Linked DNA regions of Homo sapiens: regions 1 and 3 are each linked to region 2. The links are contacts of gene promoters, found by promoter capture Hi-C in blood cells and fetal thymus (Javierre and others, 2016). All regions are on one chromosome and are shown on one strand. Each heading gives the region's core, a stretch centred on a gene start or on the middle of the fragment in contact. The rest is flanking DNA. Distances are from core to core; before and after follow the strand shown.

Region 1 (2,700 bases), core at 81-2,580, 300 kb after region 2:
ATCTGTGCTTCTGCTGACATAAAAGAGGGTAATAAAAGTGACACAGGAAAGCGGTGTTGTGAGGCTTTAGTGATGGTGGAGCAGTGTTGCTGAAGTCCCTCAGGGAGTTTGGATTTGATTGCAGTGAGTCTGGCTACATCTGAAGCCTATAATAGTTTACAGTACAAGATGCTATGTATAAGATGTCAAACATTTGCTTGGTAGAATGCTATGATTGTCAGGAGTTTACTTTTGCACTGAAAATAGTCTTGTTGGTTTGGTGTAAGTAGAGTCACATTGCAGCACACACACAGGCATTCATGCTTTTATGTTTGTTAATTGTAAGGAAATGTTTTCTCAAGGCAAGAGTCAAAGGTTAGCAGAGTGCCAAAGACCTTCTCAAAGAGGAAAGTCTCATTTTAGAAACTTCATTTTGTACGCCAAAACTTGCCTTTCAGTAGTCTCATGTAATGTTTTTGCTGACATGAGTTGAAAAGTGCATTCTGTTGTAAAGGAGGAAAAAAACTGAAGAGGAACCGTAAGCGTGATTATGAAGAAGAGAAAAGAGCAGGAAGAAAGTAGACATCATCCCAGATTTAAATTTCATATTGTTAAAATCATTTGGTTGCAAGCAGTAGAAATTTTCTATAACTAACTTAGATAAACAAGGACTTGTTGGACACCTGCTGTCCAACATTCACAAAACCTAAAGAAGAAAACTGAACTAGATCTAGTGTGGCTAGGGATTTCAGGGACAGGAATTAACAAATCTCCTGAGGAGGCTGCCATCAAAATGACTGTGTTAACTGTTGTCCATCCTGGTGTATTCTACTCACATTTCAGACTCCTGCGAGAGGCTGATTGACCTGGTTTGAATCTCGTGCCTACCCACTCGTAGTCCCTCCAGACCCCAGGGGGTGAGCGAAGGGTGTTTGCCTGAAGGAAGAGTGGAACAGGAGCTGGGCAGGGAAAAAAGAACAGATGTTCATTCTACTGGCCACATAGCCACAGTCAGTGGTAATGATTTTCCCTGGCCAGACTTGGTGGCCAGTAGTTACTAGTCTCCTTTCTCTTCAGAAACATCTGCTCTTGTCAGAGTTATAGCCTATTCTTGATGAGCTGCAGCAAAAATGTACCACTTAAATTGGAGATGGATCATTTCCTGAGGATCTCAGAATATCTTTTTCAGTTAGCTTTATAAAGTAATTGTCCAGATGGCCATTTAATTTGTGATATGGGATAAAGTAATCTAGGGGAAAAAACACTTCTTTAAAATGACTTTTTTTTTTTGGGGGGGCCGGGCACACTGGCTTACACCTGTAATCCCAGCACTTTGCGAGGCCAAGCTGGGTGGATCACCTGGGGTCAGGAGTTCGAGAGCAGCCTGGCCAACATGGCAAAACCCCGTCTCTACTAAAAAATAAAAAAAAAAAAAAGCTGGGTGTGGTGGCAGGCACCTGTAATCCCAGCTACTTGGGAGGCTGAGGCAGGAGAATTGCTTAAACCCTGGAGGTGGAGGTTGCAGTGAGCTGAGATTGTGCCACTGTACTCCAGCCTGGGTGACAGAGTGAGACTCCATCTCAAAAAAATAAAATAAAATGACTTTTTTTAAATTGTGAAGAATATAGGTTAAGATTATATTGCAGTAGTAACGTAATAATATATTCAGGATAAAAAATTGAAGTTAGATCTGAAATATCAACATCCTAAACTAAGAAAAACCTTTTAAATTAATGTACTCTTGTTTTTTTCTTCTTAGCTAATAGTAAATAACGATAGACTCACACTCCCAGGAAGGGTGAGGAAGGGACAATTCAGACCTCTCTAGACTCCATGCATGGCCTGGTTAAATCACTTTTTTTTATCAGCATCTCATTTTTCCTTCCAGCAAGTTTATATCCTCATTGAGGAAGAGTGTCTTGCCAGAAGATTATTGTGATAATTTTTATAAGATATGTATATTCTTTTCTGAATCTCAGAGTAAATATTCTTTGTCTTCCTAAATGAACTGGTAGAATGTTTACATTTTCATTCTATTTCTGTAGAATTTTTTTTTTTTTAATTGAAACAGAGTCTTGCTCTGTTGCCCAGGCTGGAGTGCAGTGGCGCGATCTCGGCTCACTGCAACCTCTGCCTCCCGGGTTCCAGTGATTCTCCTGCCTCAGCCTCCCTAGTAGCTGGGACTACAGGTGTGTACCACCACGCCTGGCTAATTTGTGTGTTTTTTAGTAGAGACAGGGTTTCACCGTATTGGCCAGGCTGGTCTCGAAATGCTGACCTCGTGATCCACCTGCCTCAGCCTCCCGAAGTGCTGGGATTACAGACATCAGCCACCGCACCCAGCCATTTCCGTAGAATTTATAGCCTCCCTGTTGCAGTGAGCTGAGATTGTGCCACTGCACTCCAGCCTGGGCGACAGAGTGAGACTCTGTCTCCAAAAAAAAAAAAAAAAAAGAATTTATACCCTCCCTATTTCTTCTCTCCCACTTCTGCCTTCTCTTCCACTTCTGCCTTCTCCCCTTGTTCCTCATAGTCCTTGGGCATGTGCTACTTCAGCAGAGACCTGGGTCCTCTTTTGTGAAATTCAGTCAACAAAAAGCTCAAGGAACAAGTTAAGACTGAAGACTGATCGAGTTCATGTAAGTGTGGTAGGATTGCATGGTGCCATTTGATATTAAAAGGCATGTATTGTTTAAGAAACTAAACAAAAGCCAACTGTGT
Region 2 (2,700 bases), core at 46-2,545:
TGTTCTAACCCAAGACACCTTTCTTTGGATCATTTTCAAAGTTCCTAAGTGACCTCAGGAAAGATCAGAACTCCTTATCATAGCATCTCAAATACACTCTTTACATATTAATACATGCTATGTATCATACATGTAGACACATGCATTTATACACAAGAATACCTGCCTTTACCAAATATGTATGCATATATGTAAATGAGTATTCACAAAGACTGTGTATGATAACAAACTACATGCATGTGGACTCAGAATAAGTGGGACCAGGTTACATGATTTGAAAAGCATGCCCAGGGGCCTCTGACAAACAGTCTCCTATGTAGCCATATTGTCTGGAAATCTCTCAGTGTCTTACTCCTTGAAGATGTACAACATCTCATTCTCCCTCTCCCTTGTCTTCTGCCTGTGAATATAAGCCAAAGTATCCAGCTGTTGAAGGCCTAGAGCTGCTGCTCCACTATGGCCCAGCCAGAGACTCAAGTGGGAGACTACCATGCAGAGCTTATAGTAGCTCCCAGCTCAGTCTCTCTAAACATACCCTCTGGGGTTGAATCCTGGCCCCTCCACAAATGAAACATGTGACTTAAACAGGTCATCTAAATGTCTCTGGATTTGATTTCATCTGTAAAATGGAGATAGTAATAGCATCTCCCTCCCAAGGCTATGTGAAGATGGATTGGGGTAATATGTGGAACACAGTACAAATGTCTGGGCAATCATAATTTTTTAGCAAATGTTCATTATTATCATCATCAGTATTGTTCTCTTTATCTTTTCCATGGAAAGTCTAACTTATAGACTAGGGATTTTCTAATATGTTGATACCAAACCACATCCTCCAGAAGCAGCTCTAGGCCCCATACAAAGCCTGCTTTGTAATAACACAGTCACTCATTCTCTCCACATACAATGAGGGAGGGTAAGTACAGAGATTCTCTAGTTGGGCTCCTTGGTCCCAAGATATCTACCACAAACCTCAAAATATTCCCCTGCATAAGTTAATTCAACCTCAACATCTTACATAGTCAAAAAATGTATCCACATAACTTCAGGATTAGTCCCTTGTTCCTTTTCCTCAACCAATTTTGTAAAAGGAAATAACTAAAACATCCAAAAGCAAAGAGTAGAAAGTTGGAGTTTTGAAAGACTGTTGAAAGACTCCCCCATTTGGGGGTACTAAATCACATTATAAAATTGCAAAACTGTCAGAGTGTAATTAACCTATGTTGCTTCATATTCCTGATGCAGCAATTGTTTAAGACATGGCTTTAAAGAGGACTGCAAGAGAGCTGTGAGTGACACATGATGCTGTGAACGTCAGGGTGCTCGCCAGGGAAGGGCCCTACCCAGAGGGACAGAAAGAAAGCCAGGAGGGGTAGAGTTTGAAGAGAAGATCATGTTCTCCCTGAAGACGCTTCCATTTCTGCTCTTACTCCATGTGCAGATTTCCAAGGCCTTTCCTGTATCTTCTAAAGAGAAAAATACAAAAACTGTTCAGGTAAATGAACTATCAGTTAGGTGATGTTTGATTTGCTGATTATTAGGAAATAGTGTGGGTTGTTTTCTCTTGTTAATTAAAACAGCCTGAAAGAAATTATTTGGGTGATTAGTTTGAGATTGAACATCTCCTTTTAGTGATTTGGAGGGTTCCAAGCTGGTAAGGACTAGGCCTTTTAAAAGCCGGACATGAAAACAAGCTGAATTCTTTAAAGGCTGGGAAAATACTGCTGTAGAGTTACCCCTAGTTGGGAAACTTTTGTAGAAGAAATGGTTTTATTTATAAAATGGTATCATTTTCTTTCTCATTTACCTAAGGTTTTTCCTTCCAGGATATCTGCAATCAAGTTACTATATGTCTGGTGCTTCCATACAGGCATTTTCTTTGCCGCCAAAAATTCCAGATATAGAAAATAATGTGAGGATGGTAGATTACAATGAACTAGAAATCAGTACACAGTAAAATCATATTTCCCAGCATCAGATTGTGGACTGTTTATAAACTCTTGGAAGCATTATAAAAGCAGAACCAATAGTTTTTTTCCATTGTTTCACAGTCTGAAAGTGAACCCAAATTTTTAAGAAACACAAGGGAATTCTGTCACAAATCTCTCATGCACAGTTTTCTTAGCATTATAGTTTGGAGAAAGCATTATTATTATTAAGAGGTTATCTCTTAATTGTAACCCCCGGGTTAATGTAAAGTCCATTGAGTGCTTATTCTATGCAAGGCAACTGCTACACATTTCACAAATATCTCATTTAATCCTCACAAGAACCTTATTGGAGCATTATTATTTTCATTTCAGAGACAAAAATATCTTAAATCAGATAAATAATGTGGCCAAGTGCTCACAGTTAATTCATGGCAGAGTTAAGATTTGAACCCAGGCCTGTCTGATTCCAAAGCGTGTGATCTGGTCAGTGTCACCTACTGCTGTGGTTAGAGTGTGTCCCTTGAATTTATGTGTTAAAGATTTAGTAGCCCATGTGACAGTGGGTCCTTTAAGAAGTACTTAGGTCATTAAGAAAGATTAATGACACTCTTGTGTGACTGGATTAATTTTTGCTGGAGTGGGTTCTGGCTCTTGCAGAACTGGATTAGTAATTAATAGAATGGGTATTATAAAGAGGGGCTGCCCTTTGTGTTTTGCCCCTTTTCACACATGCTTGCTCCCCTTTTGTTTCTCTGCCATGTTATGACAC
Region 3 (2,775 bases), core at 76-2,575, 320 kb after region 2:
CGTGAAGGGCATCAAGCCATTTATGAGGGATCTGCCCCCATGATCCAGACAACTCCCACTAGGCCCCACCTCCCAAGACCGCCACATTGGAGATCAAATTTCAATATGAGTTTTGATAGGGACAAACAAACCAAATCCAAACCATAGCAGTAGGCAACATAGGAAACCAAAAAACCTGAAAATAAACTATGAGACAGGAAATGAATACAGAAATATATTACATCATATTAAATGGACAAAGACATATTAAAAGCTTTCATTCCCTAGACATTGTATCCTAATAGGTACCTATAGTTGTAAACGTTAGTTAAATTGTCGTGTTAAAAAGAAGATGCAGTATGAAATAAAATTAACACAGAAAGGTTTGCTTCTGGTTATAGGCCATATTTTATGCAAAAAGAAGGAAACCTTTGCTGGATGAAAACAAAAGTAATCGAAGTTTATTTTAAGGAGTATTGGCCGGGCACGGTGGCTCATGCCTGTGATCCCAGCACTTGGGGAAGCTGAGGCGAGCAGATCACTTGAAGTCAGGAGTTCAAGACCAGCCTGGCCAACATGGTAAAACCTTGTCTCTACTAAAAATACAAAAATTAGCCAGCATGGTAGCAGGCACCTGTAATCCCAGCTACTCAGGAGGTCAAGGCAGGAGAATCACTTGGACCCAGGAGGCGGAGGTTGCATTGAGCCGAGATCTTGACACTGCACTTCAGCCTGGGTGACAGAGTGAAACTCCATCTCAAAAAACAAAAAAGAAGTTAAGGAGCATTAACAAGATCTGTACCTATATGTTTCTGTTTACATTATACCCCCCAAAAAAGAAAAACTCAGTTGCAGGTATGAGCAAAGGTATTGTTTGAGTTGTGTATTTTAAATCACTAATTTTTCTTTTCATACAAAATTGGCTTTTGGACTTGTAAAACTTTCACAGATAGTTTTAGAACTGTCCTTCCAACTATGGGAAATTATTATTACCAGTATGACAGCTAGCCACATTCTGTGATGGTATCTCACTTCCTAATGCATAGTGGGAAGTTGGCTTTACTTTTACAAAAAATAACTCACTTGGACTTCCCATTCTACCAGGAGGGTTAGAAACATGCAGCTACTGATTTATTGTCCTCAAAGCCCCTTGGAAGGTATAGCAGAGAACTGGAAATTTAAAAACCATTTTTATATTCATTAGTTTATCCATCCATTCAACAGATATTTGTTGAAAGCCTATTATGTGATATGAAATACGTTGAGATGTTCAGACAGAGATGATTAAGACATGTCCCTGCACTGAGGGAACTCTGTCTTCTGGGTTGTTTTTTTTTTTCTTCATATCTTCCCCAAAATTTCTAACTTTATATAAATTTAGACTTGGTTTCTGTTGAGTCTTTTACTAGTTTGAGACATTTTATTGCAGTATAGTGCAAAGTATTAATGGGCTAAGTATGTTAAATGCTGCTGTATTTGTAAGATCTCTTGCTTTGTCTGTGACCATGAAAGTCTCAGTGAAATGGGATCTTATTCCCTAAATCATAGCTCTGGTTTTAATGTTTCTTGATATTATTGCAGAGACTCTCCAACATGTGCCTTCTGACCATACAAATGAAACTTCCAACAGTACTGTGAAACCACCAACTTCAGTTGCCTCAGACTCCAGTAATACAACGGTCACCACCATGAAACCTACAGCGGCATCTAATACAACAACACCAGGGATGGTCTCAACAAATATGACTTCTACCACCTTAAAGTCTACACCCAAAACAACAAGTGTTTCACAGAACACATCTCAGATATCAACATCCACAATGACCGTAACCCACAATAGTTCAGTGACATCTGCTGCTTCATCAGTAACAAGTATGTATTAAAGCTGACCTTTTTTTTCCTATGCTGCAAGTAGTTAAATGCCACATTTAAGTCATTATTCTGTCTGGCAAAAATAATATAGAAACTTTATATGCCTAGATTTCCCTTAATTCCTAATTAAATGTTCTTAACACAGAAAATCAGAGAGCTTTAATTACAATGTTAAAAAAAAAAAAATAACGCTAAAGCCCTTTTTTGTTTTCTTTTGTTCTAGTCACAACAACTATGCATTCTGAAGCAAAGAAAGGATCAAAATTTGATACTGGGAGCTTTGTTGGTGGTATTGTATTAACGCTGGGAGTTTTATCTATTCTTTACATTGGATGCAAAATGTATTACTCAAGAAGAGGCATTCGGTATCGAACCATGTAAGTTTTGAATGGCCAGGACTTTTTAAAAAAAATTGTTGGTGCACATCTTTAATTATGATAGAATATCAAGCCAGTGCTCATCTCAGGGATGAATAATTGATAGATTTATGAGTTATATTCCCATTAACCCTTTTGGCCCAAAGTAAATTGTTTATGTACAAGCTTGTGATTATAATTATTTGCAAATGAAAATGGATGTATATACTTAAAAAAATGTATTTTACTAGTGTCAAACACACTTTACAGGAGACCAAAGTTAACCTACCCTGAAATTTTCACTTACTCATACCAATAATCGTAAGAAATACCAGTTCCCAGCAGGCTTTTGACTTAGTATGTCTGTGTCTGTTGTGGTACTAAATAGCATCCTTGGTAAAACCATGGCTTTTGTTTTCCACGACAAAGACAAAAAAAATTCCTCTGACAGCCTCATTATCCCTGAAAATTTAAATGAGTGGTTAGTATAAATAATATAATTTATCATTTTACCTGTAGCAAAACTCTCTTTTTAGATGTGCATTATCAACAAGACCTAATCCATGTT

What was found. Contacts are between HindIII fragments. The CHiCAGO score rates a contact against its expected background, and 5 or more counts as called.
Region 1: a fragment that was not itself captured here is called in contact with the fragment with the promoter of MMP8 in region 2 in 2 of 17 cell types (M1 macrophages and M0 macrophages); the score reaches 6.4 in M1 macrophages.
Region 3: a fragment that was not itself captured here is called in contact with the fragment with the promoter of MMP8 in region 2 in 3 of 17 cell types (M0 macrophages, M1 macrophages and monocytes); the score reaches 6.5 in M0 macrophages.

The regions. Positions count from the first base shown.
Region 1 is chr11:102,427,181-102,429,880 of GRCh38, reverse strand. The region is part of intron 2 of TMEM123 (transmembrane protein 123); the gene reads left to right. Among named protein-coding and RNA genes, the nearest start is that of TMEM123, 24 kb to the left of the region's middle. RefSeq lists an enhancer at 62-121 and a silencer at 746-923. The HindIII fragment of the contact is 3,918 bases long and covers 1-2,700 here.
Region 2 is chr11:102,723,549-102,726,248 of GRCh38, reverse strand. It overlaps MMP8 (matrix metallopeptidase 8), which reads left to right and starts at 1,295. Exons shown (of 10, transcript NM_002424.3): 1 at 1,295-1,495. The coding sequence starts at 1,394. RefSeq lists an enhancer at 889-2,088. The HindIII fragment of the contact is 5,644 bases long and covers 1-2,700 here.
Region 3 is chr11:102,400,992-102,403,766 of GRCh38, reverse strand. It overlaps TMEM123 (transmembrane protein 123), which reads left to right. Exons shown (of 5, transcript NM_052932.3): 3 at 1,561-1,851; 4 at 2,075-2,228. Among named protein-coding and RNA genes, the nearest start is that of TMEM123, 50 kb to the left of the region's middle. The HindIII fragment of the contact is 2,140 bases long and covers 256-2,395 here.